Regions from separate parts of the Homo sapiens genome. Here regions 1, 2, 4, 5 and 6 are each linked to region 3. Evidence: promoter capture Hi-C in human tissues and cell types (Jung and others, 2019). All regions are on one chromosome and are shown on one strand. Each heading gives the region's core, a stretch centred on a gene start or on the middle of the fragment in contact. The rest is flanking DNA. Distances are from core to core; before and after follow the strand shown.

Region 1 (3,127 bases), core at 113-2,612, 380 kb before region 3:
GTTTTTAGTACAAAGTTGTGCAACTATCACCACAATCTAATTCCAAAACATTTAATCACCCCAGAAAGAACCCTGTGACTCTTAGCAGTCTCTCCCTGTTCCCTTCTGTCCCTCAGCCCCTGACAACCACGAACCTGCTTTCTGCCACTATGGATTTGTCTATTCTGGACATTTCATATAAATGGAATCATGCAACATACACTTTTGTATCTGGCTTCTTTCACTTAGCATGATGTTTTCAAGGCTCATCCATGTTGTAGCATGTGTCAATACTCCATTCTTTTTTATGGCTTCATAGCATTCCATTCTGCGTCTATGCCACAATTTCTTTATCTAGTCATCAGTTGAAAGACATCTGGGTTGTTTCCATCCTTTGGCTATTATGAATAATGCTGCTATGCACATTCATGTATACATTTTTTTTTTTTGAGACGGAGTCTTGCTCTCTCGCCTAGGCTGGAGTGCAGTGGCACGATCTCGGCTCACTGCAAGCTCTGCCTCCCGGGTTCCTGCCATTCTCCTGCCTCAGCCTCCCGAGTAGCTGGGACTACAGGCACCTGCCACCACGCCCGGCTAATTTTTCAAAATATTTTTAGCAGAGACGGGGTTTCACTGTGTTAGCCAGGATGGTCTCAATCTCCTGACCTTGTGATCTGCCCGCCTTGGCCTCCCAAAGTGCTGGGATTATAGGCGTGAGCCACCGCACCTGGCCATAATAAGTTGTTTTTTTGTTGTTATTTTGTTTTGTTTTTGGAGATGGAGTTTCGCTCTTGTTATCCAGGCTGGAGGGAAATGGCACGATCTTGGCTCACTGCAATCTCCAACTCCTGGGTTCAAGTGATTCTCTTGCCTCAGCCTCCCAAGTAGCTGGGATTACAGGTGCCTGCCACCATGCCCAGGTAATTTTGTATTTTTAGGAGAGAATGGGGTTTCACCATGTTGGCCAGGCTGGTCTCAAACTCCTGACCTCAGGTGATCCACCCGCCTCGGTCTCCCAAAGTACTGGCCTGGCCTCATGTATAAGTTTTTGTGTGGGGCCGGCTGCGGTGACTCACGCCTGTAGTCCCAGCACTTTGGGAGGACGACGCAGGTAGATCACTTGAGGTCAGGAGTTGGAGACCAACCTGGCCAACATGATGAAACCCCATCTCTACTAAAAATACAGAAAATAGGCCAGGTGTGGTGGCTCACGCCTGTAATCCCAGCACTTTGGGAGGCCCAGACGGGTGGATCACGAGGTCAGGAGTTCGAGACCAGCCTGACCAACATGGTGAAACCCCGTCTCTACTAAAAAAATACAAAAATTAGCCGGGCGAGGTGGCACGTGCCTGTAATCCCAGCTACTCAGGAGGCTGGGGCAGGAGAATCACTTGAATCTGGGAGGCAGAGGTTGCAGTGAGCTGAGATCGCACCATGCACTCCAGGTTGGGTGAAAAAGCGAGACTCCATCTCAAAAACAACAACAACAACAACAACAGAAAATAGCTGGGTGTGGTGGTGCACACCTGTAATCCCACCTTCTCAGGAGGCTGAGGTAGGAGAATCACTTGAACCTGGGAGGCGGAGGTTGCAGTGAGCCATGATCGCGCCACTGGACGCCAGCCTGGGTGACAGCGAGACCCTGTCTCAAAAAAAAAAAAAAATTATAGCCACTTTAGTGGGTGTGAGGTGGGATCTCATTATAGTTTTGATGTGCGTTTCCCTAGTGACTAAAGATGCTGAGCATCTTTTCATGTGCTTTTTGGCCATTTGTATACTTTCTTTTTCATCTTTTTTTTTTTTCTTTGAGACGGAGTCTCACTCTGTTGTCAGGCTGGAGTGCAGTGGCGCAATCTCAGCTCACTGCAACCTCCGCCCTCTGAGTTCAAGTGATTCTCCTGCCTCAGCCTCCCAAGCAGCTGGGATTACAGGCGCCTGCCACTGCACCCGGCTAATTTTTTGTATTTTCAGTAGAGACGGGGTTTCACCTTCTTGGCCAGGCTGGTCTTGAACTCCTGACCTCGTGATCCACCCGCCTCGGTCTCCCAAAGTGCTGGGATTACAGGCGTGAGCCACCACGCCTGGCCTGTATACTTTCTTTAGAGATAAAATATACATATCCAAATCCTTCATCCATTTTTTCAGGTGAGTTATTTGTCATTTTATTGTTGAGTTGAAAGAGCTCTTTACATGTTCTGGATGCTACACTCTTATTTGATAGATGACTTGCAAATATTTTCTCCCATTCTGTGGGTCATCTTTTCATTTTCTTGACAGTGTCTGTCTTTAAGCCTTGCAATGCAATTCTTGGTCATTTTCTCACTAAGGATTGTCTGAATCAGGAGCAGCCCTCTGAGTGCTCACAGAAGAACCACCTAGGAAAAGCCACTGGGCCAAGCGGGTTCATGTCAGGAACCTCTTTGTGCATTTTTTTTTTTTTTTTTTTTTTTTTTTTGGAGACAGAGTTTTGCTCTGTTGCCCAGGCTGGAGTGCAGTGGCACCATCTCAGCTCACTGCATTCTCCACCTCCCGGGTTCAAGTGATTCTCCTATCTCAGACTCCTGGGTAGCTGGGACTACAGGTGCACACCGCCATGCCTGGGTAATTTTTTTGTATTTTTAGTAGATACAGGGTTTCACCACATTGGTCAGGCCGGTCTTGAACTCCTGACCTCAGGTCATTCACCTGCCTTGGCCTCCCAAAGTGCTAGGATTATAGGCATGAGCCACTGCACCCCGCTTTTTTTTTTGAGACAGAGTTTCGCTCTTGTTGCCCAGGCTGGAGTCCAATGGCATGATTTCAGCTCACTGCAACCTCCGTCTCCCAGGTTCAAGCAATTCTCCTGCCTCAGCCTCCCAAGTAGCTGAGACTACAGGCACCCACCAGCACACCTGGATAATTTTTGTATTTTTAGTAGAGATGGGGTTTCACCATGTTAGCCAGGCTGGTCTCAAACTCCTGACCTCAGGTGATCCACCCACCTTGGCCTCCCAAAGTGCTGGGATTACAGGCGTGAGCCACGTGCCTGGCCCGCTTTGTGCTTTGAGCCACATTCCAGGCTCCCAAGTTGCTGGAACTGTGGTGTGCCCCATGTCATGACCCCGGGCCAGGAGTCCTGCCTGAGGAGCAGCTGGGAGCGTTTAAGAGT
Region 2 (3,044 bases), core at 1-2,500, 340 kb before region 3:
CAGCTACTCGGGAGGCTGAGGCAGGAGAATCCCTTGAACCCAGGAGGCGGAGGTTGCAGTGAGCTGAGATCACGCCACTGCACTCCAGCCTGGGCGACAGAGGGAGACTCCGTCTCAAAACACAGAAAAACAAAAACAAAATATAACCAGGAAAGACCTAGACTCCGTAAAATAGCTTTACAAACCTAATCAAGGGAACCAGACACCCCAAACTGTACTTCGAACACTGTTGAAAAGTTGTGAAAGTCATGTTCTAGCAGTTGAAATGTTTGCTGATCAGTCCACTCTCTCAGGAAAAAAAACACCAGACCCACAAAGAAAATAGAAGGTTTAAAACACAAATGTCTGTAATTAAGCAATGGAATGACGTCTTCCGCCGGCCCAAGCTTCCCACTGTTGTGTGTGTTTTTATCAACAGGAGCTCCCGGTTCTGCCTGGCCCGGTTCGCTTTCGCCTGCGTTGACTCTCTTGGCACTCAGGCCTTTCCAAAGTTTCCGGGGTCCCGTTTCCACGATACAGACAGAGGCTGGATGTCTTGATCTTATCCTCAGTCGATGTTCTCCTAACTTTAGGGCTACAAGGAGCCTTAAACAGCATGTATAGAGTTGGGAGCGCTTTGAATAGACGCACGTGAGAGGGAGGCGGCATCTTCCTAGCCGGTCACCAGCATTAACACGGGGCAGGAGACATGCGAATGCACCGTGGGACCCCTCTCCCTACCCCCCTGCATGAGATTTCCGAAGACCTCCGCCGGCCGACGCTGAGGGGCGGGGTTGGGAAGGCTTCCTCCAGGCGCGGGAGCAGCGGAGCGGGGACCGCCCGCTTTGGGACGCCCAGGACAATGGCGAGCGAGCTCCCGGCCAGTCCTCGCGGACCGCGGGAGGGGGCGGCTCCCTGCGCGGTAATCCGAGCCGGGATAAACAGGCGCGGAGGGGCGACGCGTCCCGGCCGGGTGCAGCGCTCGTCTCCTGGGGTCCCAGCTCCGGCCGGTCCCGCCCCGCCCCGCCGCGGGCACCCGGCCGCGCCCCCGTCCCCGTCGCGAGTCCCCGCCCACGCCCACGCCCCCGCCGCGAGGCCCTGGGCCGCGTCCACGCGCGCCGAGTCCAGCCGCGGCTCCCCGCGCGAGGCACGCGCCGCCGGCTCCTGCTGCAGTCCCGCGCTCATTGGCTGCTCCGGCGCGGGCGCTCCCGCCCCGCCTCGCCATTGGCTGGGGCCGCCGCGGTCCCCGCGCGGAGCGGCCGCTGACATCACGCGGCCTGAGGCGGCGGCGGCGCCCCCGGCCCAGACCCGCAGCCCCCTTGGCAGAGGCGCCGCCGCGGTGCCCGGCGGAGGATGGTGCGCGGCGCGCCGGGGGCTCCCCGCCGCCAGAGCCGCAGCGCCGCAGCGGAGCCGGCCGCGGCGGGCAGTCGGCCCCCGCACCGGGCGCGGGGCGGGCGGCCGCGGTGAAGCGCGGAGGGCGGCGCGGGCACCGGGGCCGGGCCGGGGCTGCAGCCGCAGCGGCCATGGGGGCCCTGACGAGCCGGCAGCACGCGGGCGTGGAGGAGGTGGACATCCCGTCTAATTCCGTGTACCGCTACCCGCCCAAGTCCGGTGAGGGCGGGCGGGCGCCGCAGCCGCGAGGAGGGAGAGGGGCAGGGGCAGGGGTCTGGGTCGGGACGGCCTGAGGGGGCCCCGCGGGTCTTCGGGGACTCAGTGGTTGCGGACGCTCCGAAACGGTCTTCGAGCGCGGGAGGTCTTCGAGAAGGCCGAGGTCTCCCCCGCCCCGGGCGAATTAGCCCAAGGGGCGTCCTGCCGGGTCTAGCAGGGTCACCGAGGGCACCGAGCCCCTCCACGGGAGGACGGGAGCGGCCTCCATTGTAATCGGCCCCGTGACGGGGACGCGTGCCCGCAGGGACCGAGGCTCCTGGGGAGCGGGGCTGCGGCGTCGTAGGCGAGGTCGGCGCCCCGCACGGACCCGGCCGGCCCGGCCCAAAGCCTACCTGCCTCGCGGGGTCCGAGGGCCGCGAGGGAGGCGACCTCGGCATCCAAACAGGCACTTGCGCCAGGTGCTATCCCTGCGCTGCCGTCTCCTGGCCTCTGGAAAGGTTAGAATTAGGTTTCTCCTGGAAAAGCTTCCATTGCCTGCTGAAGGATGGAAGCCAAACAGGCATTTGCAGTGCTGGTGCTTTTGCAGAGGCTGTCAGAAGCCGGGGGGTGGGGGGGGTGGTGGTGGTGGAAAGTAACAGAAATGTTTGGGAATCTGAGTATCAGAGTTACTCGGATTGCCCCTTTGCTAGCGTAGTGGCAAGCCTGGGTTTTGGAGTGGGACCAGCTCTGGGACAGGGCAGAGGTATTGGAAACGTATAGAAGTATGTTTGTTATTAGAATCATCCCTTCACTTAAATGTCTCTAGCCTCTGGATTGTGGTATCAGCATTGGAGGTGGAGGAGGATTTTGACAGCAAAGCAGAGAATCACAAGGTAGTTCAGTTATGTGAGCACCGGCCAGTATGAATTGCATGACCTAGCCGGTGTTTACTTTTAATTGCAAGTAGTTTTATTTTAATTAATTACTTTTAATTTTATTCTCAAGACTTCTGAGGATGAATGGCTGCGACATTCTGTCTGCTTAGGACCCGATGGAGATTTTGGTGATTTCGGAATGAGGTGTCAGAATTGGAGCAGAGCCTCGTCTCTTTTTGGTAGAATAGAGACATACTGAGATGAGCTGGTTTCTCAGCAGTGTGTCCAGTGTCTGCCAGGTGAAAGCAGGGGCCAGACGATGAACCTGCCCGCATCCCTGCAGAGTGTCTGCCAGAGCTGTGTTTCTCACTGCTTTTGTACCAAAGAATGAATCCTTGCAAAGATGAATATGGTGAAGAATTGTTTTAGAAAGGTCTAAGATAAAGCTGTGGGTCGTTAGTATTTTAATAAAGCTCTGACTGATTATGACTACATAAAATCAACGCTAACCAAGGCATAGATTTTGTTTTTTAATAGACAAAAATATTCTTAGGGCGGCATGAGGAAAACTTTTTAAAATAGACAAAAATATGCAGCAGTATT
Region 3 (3,284 bases), core at 716-3,215:
CGTGCCCCTACACTCCAGCCTGGGCGACAGAAACTCCATCTCAAAAAAAAAAAAAAAAAGGACAAGGTAAAACAGCCACGATGTAAACACACAATCCAGTTATGCTCCTGTACTGCATAACTGCAGTATGGAATGTCACAATAAGCAACTCCTTACGAGCAGGACTGGGTGTGACTGCCCCACGTATTCCCCTCCACACTTAGCATGTAGCAGGTGCACACTGCTGGGTGGATTAGAAATGACTGTGAAAGGTTTAGCTGTTTGGCTGCTGTTTATGAAAACCAGTGGAAGGTGTGGCCACTTCCTGCTGGATGGAGAGACCCTCATTCCATTCTCATTCCATCTCAAAGTGATTGTGAGGGTCAAGCTTCTGCTGGTGCCAGAGCCACTGGCCTGGTCACCACCAGCCCTGGCCTGGGATGTCAGAGCAGGCTTCCTGGAGAGACCCCTCTCCTGGGGCTGGGTGGTGGCCAGGCCAAGGTGGGGCAGTGAGGAGGTGAGAGGCAGAAGACACAGCGTATACAAAGGCCCCGTGGCCTGGAGGCAAAGTGCGATGGAAAAGTCTTGCCTTTTAGGGCAGGAGGGCCAGGGCTGGGGCAAAGGAGGGTCCCAGATTCCCCAGGCTACCAAGTTTTGCCATGGTAGAACTGGATCACAAGGGCAAGCCTGAGTCCTGCCAGAAACATTCACATCTGCACTTAACCAGGTCACTTCTGCCTTTGTGTGGATAATGAGAAGTTGGAGATAGTTGAGCTAACACACAAACCACTGCGAGCGCTTTCCAGAGGGTAATCTTTTCATCCTGACAGCTGTCAGGTAAGCACTAGTGTTAACCTGCTTTTTCCCAAATGAGGAAACCACAAGGAAGACAGTAAGGTCACGATCTGGTTTTTTTTTGGGGGGGGGGAGGGGCATTTTGAGACGGTGTCTCACTCTGGCACCGAGGTGGTGGCGCAATCTCGTCTCACTGCAGCTTCTGCCTCCCGGGTTCAAGTTAATTCTTGTGCCATAGCCTCCTGAGTAGCTGGGATTACAGGCGCCTGCCACCACGCCCGGCTAATTTTTGTATCATTAGTAGAGATACAAAAATTTTTGTATCTTTAGGGTTTTGCCATGTTCGTAGGGCTGGTCTCAAACTAATTACCTCAGATGATCCGCCCACCTCGGCCTCCCAAAGTGCTGGGATTACAGGTATGAGCCACCGCGCCCAGCCACAATCTGGGTTTTTATTACTATTATTTTATTATTATTATTATTATTGAAATAGAGTTTTCACTTTTGTCGCCCATGCTGGAGTGCAGTGGCGCGATCTCGGCTCACTGCAGCCTCCGCCTCTGCCTCCCAGGTTCAAGCGAGTCTCCTCCCTCAGCCTCCCGAGTAGCTGGGATTACAGGCGTATGCCACGCCCGGCTAATTTTTGTATTTTGAGTAGAGACGGGTTTTCACCGTGTTGGCCAGGATGGTCTCGATCTCCTGACTTCGTGATCCACCCGCCTTGGCCTCCCAAAGTGCTGGGATTCCCGGCGTGAGCCACCGCGCCCAGCCCTCAATCTGGGTTTTAAACCCAAGCAGAGTCCGGAATCGGAGCTCGCACCCCTTCTCCCAACCAGGCCTGCGTCCCTGGGGAAATCAGGACGCAGCGTCCAGGGGTTGGAGGAGGGCCCCGGCGGCCGACCCCGGTCTGTGCCGCCCCCTGGTGGCCAGCCATGGGCGAGCATATGACTGCTCTCGGCTCCGCCCCGCCGTCCAACGGGCACTTCCGGAGCCGGGCGTCTACAGACCGCGGCCACCTTCCACCTGCGCCCGAGGCAGACGGTGCAGGGGCCTCCGGGACAGGCGTCTGAGGCCTGCTCCGCAGCGCGGGCCCGGGGGCGGGCCTAGGGGCGGGGCCTGCTGTGGTGCGCTCAGGCACCGCGCTGGCCACCTGTGCCCGGGTCCTAGTGGCGGCCGCAGTGTCGCAGGCCGGAGGGAAGATGGCGGCGCCCTGGTGGCGAGCCGCGCTGTGCGAGTGTCGGAGATGGCGGGGCTTCAGCACCTCGGGTGAGGGGTGGGCAGCTCTGCGGGGGGGGGGGGGGGGGCTGTCGCCCGAGCTGTGGGGCGCCGGCCTTACGTCTTCTCTCTGCCCGCAGCCGTCCTGGGCCGCCGGACACCCCCGCTGGGGCCGATGCCCAACAGTGACATCGACTTGAGCAACCTGGAGCGGCTGGAGAAGTACCGGAGCTTCGACCGCTACCGGCGCCGAGCAGAGCAGGAGGCGCAGGCCCCGCACTGGTGGCGGACCTACCGAGAGTATTTCGGGGAGAAGACAGGTGCGGGGCGACTGGAGCAGGGGCTGCAGCCACCGCCCGGGGAACTCGGGACCCGCCGGCGTTTTCCCCGGGCGCTGGGCGAGCCTTGCCGGCGCCCTTGTGGATGCTGGGGACGCTGGGAGGGCCTGCCTGCAGACCTGTGTGCGCTATCGGCAGCTTAATCACCCCAGGATTTTTCACACCTTCTGCACCTCATTCTTGGAAAATTCGCTCCCCCTACTATTAGAGTTCCAGCTCCTAAAATATTTGCTCCTAAAATCTTGACCACCTGACTTTCCGGATTGGGATGCCGTTCTGTGCGCCTCAAATACTCTGTAGGTAACTCTGGCCACACTGCATTCTGACTGTGCGCTGCCTCTCCCCAGATTGTAAGCGCCCTGTTGACAGGGATCCTGCTTGTCTTGCCCTCCATTGGATCCTTGCACCCGAACAGTGCAAGGATGTACATGTGCAATACTTTGCTGAATGAAATTAAAGGCCTGGGCAGGGTGACTCAAAAAAGAACCCAACCTGGCCGGGCGCGGTGGCTCACGCCTGTAATCCCAGCACTTTGGGAGGCCTAGGCGGGCGGATCACCTGAGGTCGGGAGTTCGAGACCAGCCTGACCAACATGGAGAAACCCCGTGTCTGCTAAAAATACAAAATTAACTGGGCGTGGTGTCGCATGCCTGTAATCCCAGCTACTCGGGAGGCCTCTGAGGCAGGAGAATCGCTTGAACCCAGGAGGCAGAGGTTGCGGTGAGCCGAGATCGCGCCATTGCACACCAGCCTGGGCAACAAGAGCGAAACTCCGTCTCAAAAAGAAAAAAAAAAAAAGACCCCAACCTTTAAGGAACTTACAATTTATGGAGTATATGCTTTTCTTTTCTTTTCTTTTCTTTAGCATTTATAGAGGCAGTTTTGTGGTGGTTAAAGGCACAAGCGTGGAATCTAAATAGCCCGATTTAAATCCTAGCTCAGCCTCTCGGATAATGT
Region 4 (2,996 bases), core at 1-2,500, 270 kb before region 3:
GGGCCACAAAGAGGAAGTCATAGCCCTGGCTTGGGCAGCTCCCAGGTCTGGGCTCCCCGACGGGCCACAGCTCTTCTCTCCTCTTTGCCTGCAACATGACAAGCAAGGAGCATGTTTCAGTCCTGTTTGTGTTACAGCTCTTTTAGTCCCACCATTCCATGGGTCCAAAATTCTTGTCCTGCAACAAGGAAGAATGAGATACACAGACAAACATAGGGTGAGCAAGACGAAGAGGAGCCTTATTGAGCCTTGGAACAGCTCAGAGGATACCCGCAGTGGGTAGCTCTTTCCGCAGCCAGGGTGTCCTGACAAGTGTCCTAGCATAGAGACCCTGGAGTGGGAAGCTCTTTTCCGCAGGAAGGTCATCCTGTCTTCTCTGCAGCTCTCAGCAGAGAGGAGGCCCTGGAGTGCGTAGCTCCTCTCTGCAGCTGGTCTTATGGACATCTCTGCAGCTATCAGCAGAGAGGAGGCACTGGAGTAGGTTGCTCCTCTCTGCAGCTGGTGGTCCCAACCTCTGCTCTGTTCTGGCTGAGCCTGGGCCTTTTATGGGCCTCAGAGGGGAGGAAGTGCAGGTAGACTGGTCCCTGGGCATCCATGGGCAGGCCTAGAAAAGGCAACACAAGTTCCCACTCCAGTGGGCGGGACTGGCAGCCAGGCCCCCAGCCTTCACGTCCTCCCTGAAGGCCAGCACCAAGCTGCCCTCAGCACCCCCTCGCCTCTCCCCCTTCCCCTTCCCTCATGCTCATCAGTGCCCAAAGTCTGGAAGGGGCCGAGGCAGCAGGGGGCTGGCTTGTCAGCGCTACCCCGAGCATGTGCACTCCTAGCCTGGCTGCAACAGCACCTTGGCTTGGCCCCACACTGCTCTAAGATCAGAGCCAGCACCAAGAGCAAGCAGAAGCTAGGCGGCAGGAGCAGGCACTTCCGAGCCTGCTGGGGCGGGGGGGTGGGAGGGCTTTTCCGTGTCTCCAAGAGCTTATGGAGGCCCCCGATCCACAGCCCAAGGCGGGGCTGCTGCCTGTTCCTGGCTTCCACCGGCTCTGTGGAGCATGCAGCCCCTGCAGCACCCCCTTGCAGCCTGGGGCAGGGGCTCCAGGTCCTCACTGGGCCGGGGCCAGGGCCGGGGCCAGTGTCCAGGGCAGGGTGACATCGCCATGAGCTCTGCCTGTTCCCCCGGTGCTTCACGGGCAGTCTGGGACAGAGTGGATCCTGGGCCTGGGCCTGGGCCAGGCCATCTGCCCAGGAGTGTCAGGCTCAGTGGTCACCCCAATGTGGGGCAGACCTGGGGGCGCAGCCCCAGACGGGCTGCGCAGAACCTCCTCCCGAGGCACAGGAACCTGGCACCCTCGGCAGGGTGGGCACAGTGGCTGCGCCAATGGCCAGGTGCCCGAAGCGGAAGCTGCTCCCACTTCCTGCCCGGGGCCCCTGAAGCATGGCCCCAGCTCCGCGCCCAGGCCTGGCCCTGGCGCTCCATGAGCAAGCGGGACACTGGCCAAGGCCCAGCTCCGCCTCGGGGCTCCTCTTTGCCCTACCGCGCTGCTCTTCTGCCACGCTGCTCCTCTGCTGGTGGGTAACCCGGCCAGCCCCATGGGGTGGCCTCCAGGGCGGCAAGCTGTGGAGGGGCTGTCTGTCTGCTCCCTGCGACCCCCCTGCAGCAGCCGTTGTGATGGCAGCGGCTGCTCTGGACAGCCCACCACTGTCATCAATAGTAAGCACTCAATAAATGGTAATTTTTGAAAGGAAGATAACTCACTAAGAAATTTCGAGAGTAATAGTAGGCAAAATCGATTTACAGAAGAATGGGAGACAACTCTAAGAGCAGAAAAAAAATTTTTTTTAATTTGCCTCTGATCCTACTGTCCCCTCCATCTTCTCTGTTATCTCTGAATTTGCAAATTTCATTTATCCTTTAGGATCCCAGATCAACTACCAACTCCTCCATGAAGCCTTCAGATTACCTCAGCCAGAAATGATCACTTCCTTTATTTTTGCCTTTTGTGGCAAAAAAATATCCATATATTTAATCTCTTTGATATTACAATTACTATGTCAGCTGCCTTATAATGCAGCTTCCTGAAAGAGCAGGGCCTTATCTTCTTGGTTTTCAATCTCTCCTTACTCCTGGCATGGAGTGTTGCATGTAGACTCTGATTGCATGAATGCAAGGCCAGCAAGGCACAAACTTTGGTGGGTAGCAGCCCACGAACAAGCTTCTCCTGAACAGATTTGCCGTTGTTGTCTTGTGCGTGTATGTGTGTGTACAGGGAGAGCCTAAAGTATAGGGGTGGATTTATAAACAATTGAACTCATTGATACCTTTCCTTAAGAGCCAAATAGCTTATGTTTCATTGCCACAGTTATCATCAAATATATTCAAAATGGAGGATAAAGAGTGCCAGGATTTTTTTTTCTTTCTTTTTATTTTTCTCTCTTTTGCGGCAGGGAGTGGCTATGGAGGAGAAAGAGTAAAGAATAAGGGAAAAGACGCATCTTTTTTTTGAAATGCAGGTAGGAGTTATGGATAACGCCCAAGTACCTGTACAAATGAAAATGATTAACTTTGCTACTCCAGAAAAAAATTTTAATCCCAAAGTCATTTATTTTGGCTTTAGAATAGACTAGCGTTTGTGTCGGATTTTCCTGCCTAATTACTTTTTGCTTAAGCTTATTTAAAAATTGTTTTAAATTCCTTTAGTATGACAGCCTAGGAAAGTTGGGGGAGGAGAAACAGGCCACAGATGGGATCTGAACTAGAATTTCAGTTTTACCATGTCAAGGCCTCCTGATGCACTGCTTGCAGGAGGGCAAAGTTGGAGTCAGCTTTGTGGAAAACTGTTTGGCAAAATAATTTTTAAAGTCTTAAAAATATGCTTACTCTTTGATCCTGTAATTCCACTTCTAGGAATTTGTCCTTAGGAAATAATCAAACAAGCATGCAGAAATATAGGGACAAGGATATTCACCACAACATTTATAGCTGCGAAAAAAAGTAAAACCAA
Region 5 (3,405 bases), core at 122-2,621, 310 kb before region 3:
CTCTTGACCCAGGAGTTTGAGACCAGCCTGGCCAACATGGTGAAACTCCATCTCTACAGAAAAACAAAAACAAACAAAAAATAGATGAAGGTTTGGGGAGCTCTTTTTAATTCATACAATCTTGCACATTTTATGCGTCTTCCCCTTAATAACCAAAAGTTTAGAAATTAATATTGCTAAAGAATTATTGAGTGATTGAACAGGTGTTCAAGCTAATTTTAAGTAAAAGTAAGAACAATTTTGCCAACTTTGTAATTTTGAGAAAATCATTCCCAGTTATAAGTATACAGCTTATATAGCTTTTATGGGGTTTTTTGTTTGTTTGTTTGTTTTTTGTTTTTGTTTTTGTTTTTTTTTGACACAGGGTCTTGCTCTTTTACCCAGACTGGAATGTAATGGCGCAGTCATGGCTCACTGCAGGCCTGACCTCCTGGGCTCAAGTGATCCTCCCACCTCAGCCTATTGAGTAGCTGGGACCACAGGCTTGGGCCATCATACCCAGCTAATTTTTTAATTTTTTGTCGAGACAAGGGTCTAATTATAATATATTGTGAACATTTTTAATGTCAGTAGATATAGATTTACAACACCACTTTGAAAGGCTTCATAATACTCTACTGACTGAATATACCATAGTATTATTATTATTATTATTTTTAAATATACAGAGACAGAGCCTCACCATGTTGCCTAGGCTGGTCTTGAGCTCCTGGGCTCAAGTGATCCTCTCACCTTGGCCTCCCAAAGTGCTAGGATTACAGGTGTGAGCCACCACACCCAGACTATTCTTGATTTTAATGCAAGGCAAAACTACAATTAGCTCTACACATCTTTTGTGGTCATTTCTTTTCTTTTAATATTATGGCATAAAAGGGCATTTCTAATCGAACCCTGTTGCCTGCTTTAACTCTTTAGCCCCCAAATCATTAGGGGTCCTCTCTCGCTAGGTTCAATCATGGCCACCTCTAAGCCAATCATCCATGGATTTTTACTGCCCCAGATCCCTCCCCTGAGATCTCACAGGTACTGGAAACTCAGTGGTCCCACACTGAGGTCAACCTAGACAATTCCAGACATCAAACTCTCTTCTCTCCCTTTCTTTTTTCATGATTTGGGCAAGCCATCCATCTGTGTAACATCTTTAACTTTTCCAATTTTACCTAATATATGATAAATGTATAATTCCTGATGCATAGAAAATATATCTTGCTGAAGTTCATCAGTAAATGACTTAAATTATTTGAGATTGCTGCTTCTACTTAAGGCAACTAGGTACCTCCCCTCTCCATAAATTATGCACTTGGAAAATAGGGCTAGCAAGTGCCAGACATAAATAATTGATAATTAAGCTTTCCTAAATGATGAATTCTGCTGTTGTATCACTGTATCAGATGGCTGCCCTTTGTCTTTTTAAGTTTTAATGGGTGACTTTCAGTAGTTCCTCAGTGATTGCTTTGATCTGGGTTGCATTATTACTCTCAAAGAATGTTTTCCTGCTTGTTTAATTCAATAGTTGCCTCACTTTGTGGTGAGTGATTTTATCCACATTGTTTTATTTAATAGATGTTTCTAGACTAAAGCTCCTTGTGTAGAAAGTTTTAAAAATGAATGTTTGGTTCAGTTTTTGCTAGAATTTTCTTCTCTGTCTTCCTTCCTATGGCTTCTCCACAGGCTCAAAGTACTGAATCTCATTTTTTTTTTTTTTTTAGTTTGCTATAAATCTTTTTTTCCTTTTTTCTTTTCTTTTCTTTTTTCTTTCTTTCTTTTTTTTTTCTTAGAGAGGGTCTCACTCTGTCACCCAGGCTGGAGTGCAGTGGCAATCATAGCTCGCTGCAACCTTGAACTCCTGAACTCAAGCGACCCTTCTGCGTCAGCCTTCTGAGTAGCTAGAACTCCAGACGCATGCTACCATGCCCAACTAATTTTTGTATTTTTATTTATTTTTTGTTTTGTTTTTAGTAGAGACAAGGTCTTGCTAAGCTTGCTAAGTTGCCCAAGCTGGTCTCCAACTCCTGGCCTAAAGCAATTCTCCTGCCTCAGCCATCCAGAGTTTTAGGATTACAGGCAAGATCCATCACACCCTGCCTGCTACAAATCTTCAACAAAAATTGCAACTGATTTAGGGAGTTTGTGTATATCCTCAATGTATTATACACAAGCAAGCCTTTTGCCACTTAATAAGTTCCTTGTGTTAATTTCAGAAATGGGGTATATGAGAGTGTTGATAAAGGTATATTATGGGATGTGTCCTTTACTTTGGACAGCTTACCTTCATGGGAGAATTAGATAATAGAAATTAGAGGTAAGCGGCATTCGTTTAATCATCAAACTTAAAATGTATTCCCAGATGTAATTTTCAGCATAACCTAAGCCTCCTTTGGTGACTTCTCAGTTCCATCATATCCTGTCACAGTTCCTTGGTTTGTCCGGATGAGGCTGATGGGAATTTTGGCCCCTGACTGCTGATTTCATTTGGTTATTATATTGCACTGAAAATATTTCTGCCTCCTGGCTGATTAAGAAGGGGCAAAGGGGCCCTGCCATGACTGATGTCCCAGCAGTTCTGGCCATTAGCACTGTTAATGAATTTGAGGTGGAGAGGGTATGTGTGTAGCCTTCTTTCATAGCATTAAATTGTCCCCTTATTTTACACCATAGTCTGTGTAGTAATTGGTAGAGAAAGCCAGGGATAACTGTATTATCTAAATTCGTATTTTCCTGTGAAACAATAATGTTTGCAGCAAGTTAAAGTGTGAAGAACCTTCATCATAGAAGGTTATGGAGGTATAGCAGTAGTGGTGGGTGGGTACTGAGACTTCTGTGTGTAGGTATAAGCTGGCTTATGAAAATCTAGGCAAAGAAATGTGTGCGTCTGCGGATATAGGAAAAAAACTCAGTTTCTCCTATACACTCACAACACAAGCAGCACAGAAAACTTCTGTGACCTCTGGTCAGCAAAATGTGTGGGGATTCTCTCCACCAGCAACCACTCAGTTCTGCAGAGGACACCAGCTGGGTGTCCTCCAATTCATTTCACTTCTGATACTACTTGAAGATAGTGTCCCATCCCACAGGTTGAGGGTGCAATCTCACAAGACTGCCCCCCACTTCTGATGCCCATCGCAAGCCCCAGGTTGTTTTACCTGTGCTTCCAACTAACCAACCAGAAAGCAGGGTTCCCATAACCCCCTCCTTGGGTGTGATTAACTTGCTAGAGGGACTCACAGAACTAGAGAAACACATTTACGAGTTTATTATCAAGGATATTACAAAGGATACAGAGAGAGATACATAGGGCGAGGTTATGTGAGAAGGGGCACAGAGCTTCTATGCCGTCTCTGGGCATGTTACCCTCCAGAAACCTGTAAGTGTTCCCCTGTTTGGAAGCTTTCTGAACCAGTCCTT
Region 6 (3,175 bases), core at 618-3,117, 420 kb before region 3:
TGAACTCGTTCTGTCGCCCAGGCTGGAGTGCAGTGGCATGATCTTGGCTCACTGCAGCCTCCGCCTCTTGGGTTCAAGCAGTTCTCCTGTCTCAGCCTCCCAAGTAGCTGTGACTTCAGGCACACACCACCACACCCAGCTAATTTTTGTATTTTTAGTAGAGACAGGGTTTTACCATGTTGGTCAGGCTGGTCTCGAGCTGCTAACCTTAGGTCATCCGCCTGCCTCGACCTCCCAGTGTGCTGGGATTACAGGTGTGAGCCACCGTGCCAAGCCGTAATCTGCATTTTTAGCTTTTTATTTTCAACTGACTTTAGACTTAAAGTTGAAAGAATAGTACAGATTTCCAGCATATGCTCTTCACTCGGAGTCCCCAAATTTAACATTTATATACATGGGGTTTTTTTTTTTCCACCATTTGAGGGTGAGTTGCAGACGTAATGTCCCTTCATTCCTAAATACCTTCGTGTATATTTGTAAAGACAAAAGACTCTTATATAACCAGAGTATCATTATCAGACTCAGGAAGCTAACATTGCTGTAACACTGTAATCTACAGACCTTACTCAGGTTTCACCAGTGGTCCCAGCAGTGTCCTTTAGAGCAAAAGAATAAACTTGTTTTCTTGTTCAAGACCTAACCCAGGGTCACACATTGCATTTAGTTGTCATTTCTTTTTAGTCTCATTTAATCTGGAGTGGCTGCTTTATTCTTTGTTTCTTATGACCTTGATACTTTTGAACAGTGCGATCAAGTGATTTTGTAGACTCTCCCTTAATTGGGGCTTGTTTGTGTCCTCAGGATTAGATTCAGGTTATGCATTTTTGGCAGAAAATCACAGGAAACACATGATGTGTCCCATTACTGGTGATGTGCATTCTGATAAGTTGGTTAAGGTTTCTCTGGCAGGTTTCTCCACTGTAAAGTTACTCTTTTTTTTTTCCTCTTTGTAATTAATACTACCTCATGTTAAGACTATGTTTTAACTGTAAATATTCTGCTTCTCATCAAAATGAACATCTACTGATGATTCTTGCCTGAATCAATTATTGACTGTGATTGTTGTCAGTGTTCATTTTTCTAACTCTATCATTCCTTCTACATTTATTAGTTGACCTTCTAATGCAAGAAAGCTTTCTCTTCTTCCCTATTCATTTCTTCATTTATATCAGTATGGATTCATAGGCCTATTTCATTCAGTGGGTTATAATTCATTGTCGTCACAGGAATACCTTAAATATTGCAGGTTCAGTTCTGCACCATTGCAGTAGGTGAATATTATAATAAAGTGAGTCTCATGAATTTTTTGATGTCCCAGCACATGTAAAAGTTATGTTTATACTGTAGTCTGTTAAATGCTCAATATCATTGTGTCTAAAAACCAATGTACGTACCTTAATTTAAAAATACTTTACTGCTAAAAAATACTAGCAGTTGGCCAGGCGCAATGGCTCAGGCCTGTAATCCCAGCACTTTGGGAGGCTGAGGCGGGCAGATCACGAGGTCAGGAGATCGAGACCGTCCTGACTAACACTGTGAAATCGCGTCTCTACTAAAAAAATGCAAAAAATTAGCCGGGCGTAGTGGCGGGCGCCTGTAGTCCCAGCTACCGGGTGGCTGAGGCAGGAGAATGGCATGGAGGCAGGAGAATGGAGGTGGAGCTTACAGTGAGCTGAAATCGCGCCACTGCACTCCAGCCTGGGTGACAGAGCGAGACTCTGTCTCAAAAAAAAAAAAAAAAAATTAGCAGTCATCTGAGCCTCCATCTTGTTGGTGGAGGGTCTTGCCTCGATGTTGATGGCTGCTGACTGATCAGGGTGGTGGTTGTTGAAAGTTGGGATGGGCTGTGGAAATTTCTTTTCTTTCTTTTTTTTAAGAGATGGGGTCTGTTTCCCAGGTTGGTCTTTTTTTTTTTTTTTTTTTTTTTTTTGAGACTGAGTCTCCTCGCTCTGTCGCCCAGGCTGGAGTGCAGTGGCGCGATCTCAGCTCACTGCAAGCTCCGCCTCCCGGGTTCACGCCATTCTCCTGCCTCAGCCTCCCGAATAGCTGGGACTACAGGCACCCGCTACCACGCCCGGGTAATTTTTTGTATTTTTAGTAGAGACGGCATTTCACCGAGTTAGCCAGGATGGTCTCCATCTCCTGACCTCATGATCCGCCCGCCTCGGCTTCCCAAAGTGCTGGGATTACAGGCGTAAACCACTGTGCCCGGACCCAGGTTGGTCTTGAATTCCTGGCCTCAGGCAATTTTTCTTTTCTTTTTTTTTTTTTTGTTTTGAGACGAGTCTCTCTCTGTCGTCCAGGCTGGAGTGCAGTGGTTCACCCAGTTCACTGCAAGCTCCACCCCCCAGGTTCACACCATTCTCCTGCCGCAGCCTCCCAAGTAGCTGGGACTACAGGTGCCTGCCACCACACCTGGCTAATTTTTTTTTTTTTGTATTTTTAGTAGAGATGGGGTTTCACCATGTTAGCCAGGATGGTCTCGATCTCCTGACCTCATGATCCGCCCGCCTTGGCCTCCCAAAGTGCTGGGATTACAGGAGTGAGCCACTGCACCCTGCCAGCCTCAGGCAATTTTTATACCTCAGCCTCCTGAGTAGCTGGGATTACAGGCAAGAGTGATTGTGCTCAGCTGTGGCAATTTCTTAAAACAACGAAGTTTGCCTCGTTGATTGACTCTTCCTTTCACAAAAGATCTTTCTGTAGCATGTAATGCTGTTTTATAGCTTTTTTTTTTTTGAGATGGAGTTTTCGCTCTTGTTGCCCAGGCTGGAGTGCAGTGGTGCAGTCTTGGCTCACTGCAACTTCCACCTCCTGGATTTAAGTGATTCTCCTGCCTCGGCCTCCCTAAGTAGCTGGGATTATAGGTATGCATCACCACACCTGGCTAATTTTTTTTGTATTTAGTAGAGACAGGGTTTCACCATGTTGGTCAGGCTGGTCTGGAACTCCTGACCTCAGATGATCCACCCGCCTTAGCCTCCCAAAGTGCTGGGATTACAGGCGTGAGCCACTGCGCCCGGCTGACAGCATTTTTTAAAATGTCAGCCAGGTGATGTACTGATGTTCTAACAAGGTTCAAGGATGGCACATCTCACATGTAAGCGTGAACACCCAATGATCACACTTATGAACTACAAAATGATCTGTTTGATAGCATTTTACCTAGAAGAAA

Evidence for each region. The method cuts DNA at HindIII sites, captures the fragments that hold promoters and counts their contacts. A contact is called where the count stands out against the background at its distance.
Region 1: a contact is called between a fragment that was not itself captured here and the fragment with the promoter of MRPL38 in region 3, in 2 of the 25 tissues and cell types used here (lymphoblastoid cells and spleen).
Region 2: a contact is called between the fragment with the promoter of RNF157 here and the fragment with the promoter of MRPL38 in region 3, in 1 of the 25 tissues and cell types used here (adrenal gland).
Region 4: a contact is called between a fragment that was not itself captured here and the fragment with the promoter of MRPL38 in region 3, in 6 of the 25 tissues and cell types used here (H1 embryonic stem cells, lymphoblastoid cells, mesendoderm cells and 3 more).
Region 5: a contact is called between a fragment that was not itself captured here and the fragment with the promoter of MRPL38 in region 3, in 2 of the 25 tissues and cell types used here (dorsolateral prefrontal cortex and spleen).
Region 6: a fragment that was not itself captured here is called in contact with the fragment with the promoter of MRPL38 in region 3 in 1 of the 25 tissues and cell types used here (dorsolateral prefrontal cortex).

What each region holds. Positions count from the first base shown.
Region 1 is chr17:76,283,476-76,286,602 of GRCh38, reverse strand. All of the region lies in intron 7 of QRICH2 (glutamine rich 2), which reads left to right. Among named protein-coding and RNA genes, the nearest start is that of UBALD2, 20 kb to the right of the region's middle. The HindIII fragment of the contact is 8,859 bases long and covers 1-3,127 here.
Region 2 is chr17:76,238,699-76,241,742 of GRCh38, reverse strand. RNF157 (ring finger protein 157) reads left to right here and starts at 1,250. Exons shown (of 19, transcript NM_052916.3): 1 at 1,250-1,590. The coding sequence starts at 1,503. It overlaps LOC105371896 (a long non-coding RNA gene), which reads left to right. Exons shown (of 6, transcript XR_007065913.1): 6 at 1-881. RefSeq lists silencers at 1,076-1,145, 1,166-1,305 and an enhancer at 1,610-2,282. The HindIII fragment of the contact is 11,074 bases long and covers 1-3,044 here.
Region 3 is chr17:75,903,565-75,906,848 of GRCh38, reverse strand. MRPL38 (mitochondrial ribosomal protein L38) reads left to right here and starts at 1,965. Exons shown (of 9, transcript NM_032478.4): 1 at 1,965-2,040; 2 at 2,130-2,309. The coding sequence starts at 1,974. RefSeq lists silencers at 1,560-2,039, 2,050-2,099, 2,120-2,169. The HindIII fragment of the contact is 5,940 bases long and covers 1-2,294 here.
Region 4 is chr17:76,175,257-76,178,252 of GRCh38, reverse strand. The region is part of intron 2 of RNF157 (ring finger protein 157); the gene reads left to right. Among named protein-coding and RNA genes, the nearest start is that of FOXJ1, 36 kb to the right of the region's middle. The HindIII fragment of the contact is 4,379 bases long and covers 1-2,996 here.
Region 5 is chr17:76,213,843-76,217,247 of GRCh38, reverse strand. All of the region lies in intron 1 of RNF157 (ring finger protein 157), which reads left to right. Among named protein-coding and RNA genes, the nearest start is that of RNF157, 25 kb to the left of the region's middle. The HindIII fragment of the contact is 4,066 bases long and covers 1-3,404 here.
Region 6 is chr17:76,324,167-76,327,341 of GRCh38, reverse strand. All of the region lies in intron 7 of PRPSAP1 (phosphoribosyl pyrophosphate synthetase associated protein 1), which reads left to right. It overlaps LOC124904120 (small nucleolar RNA U13), which reads right to left and starts at 3,146; the gene lies at 3,043-3,146. The HindIII fragment of the contact is 3,003 bases long and covers 366-3,175 here.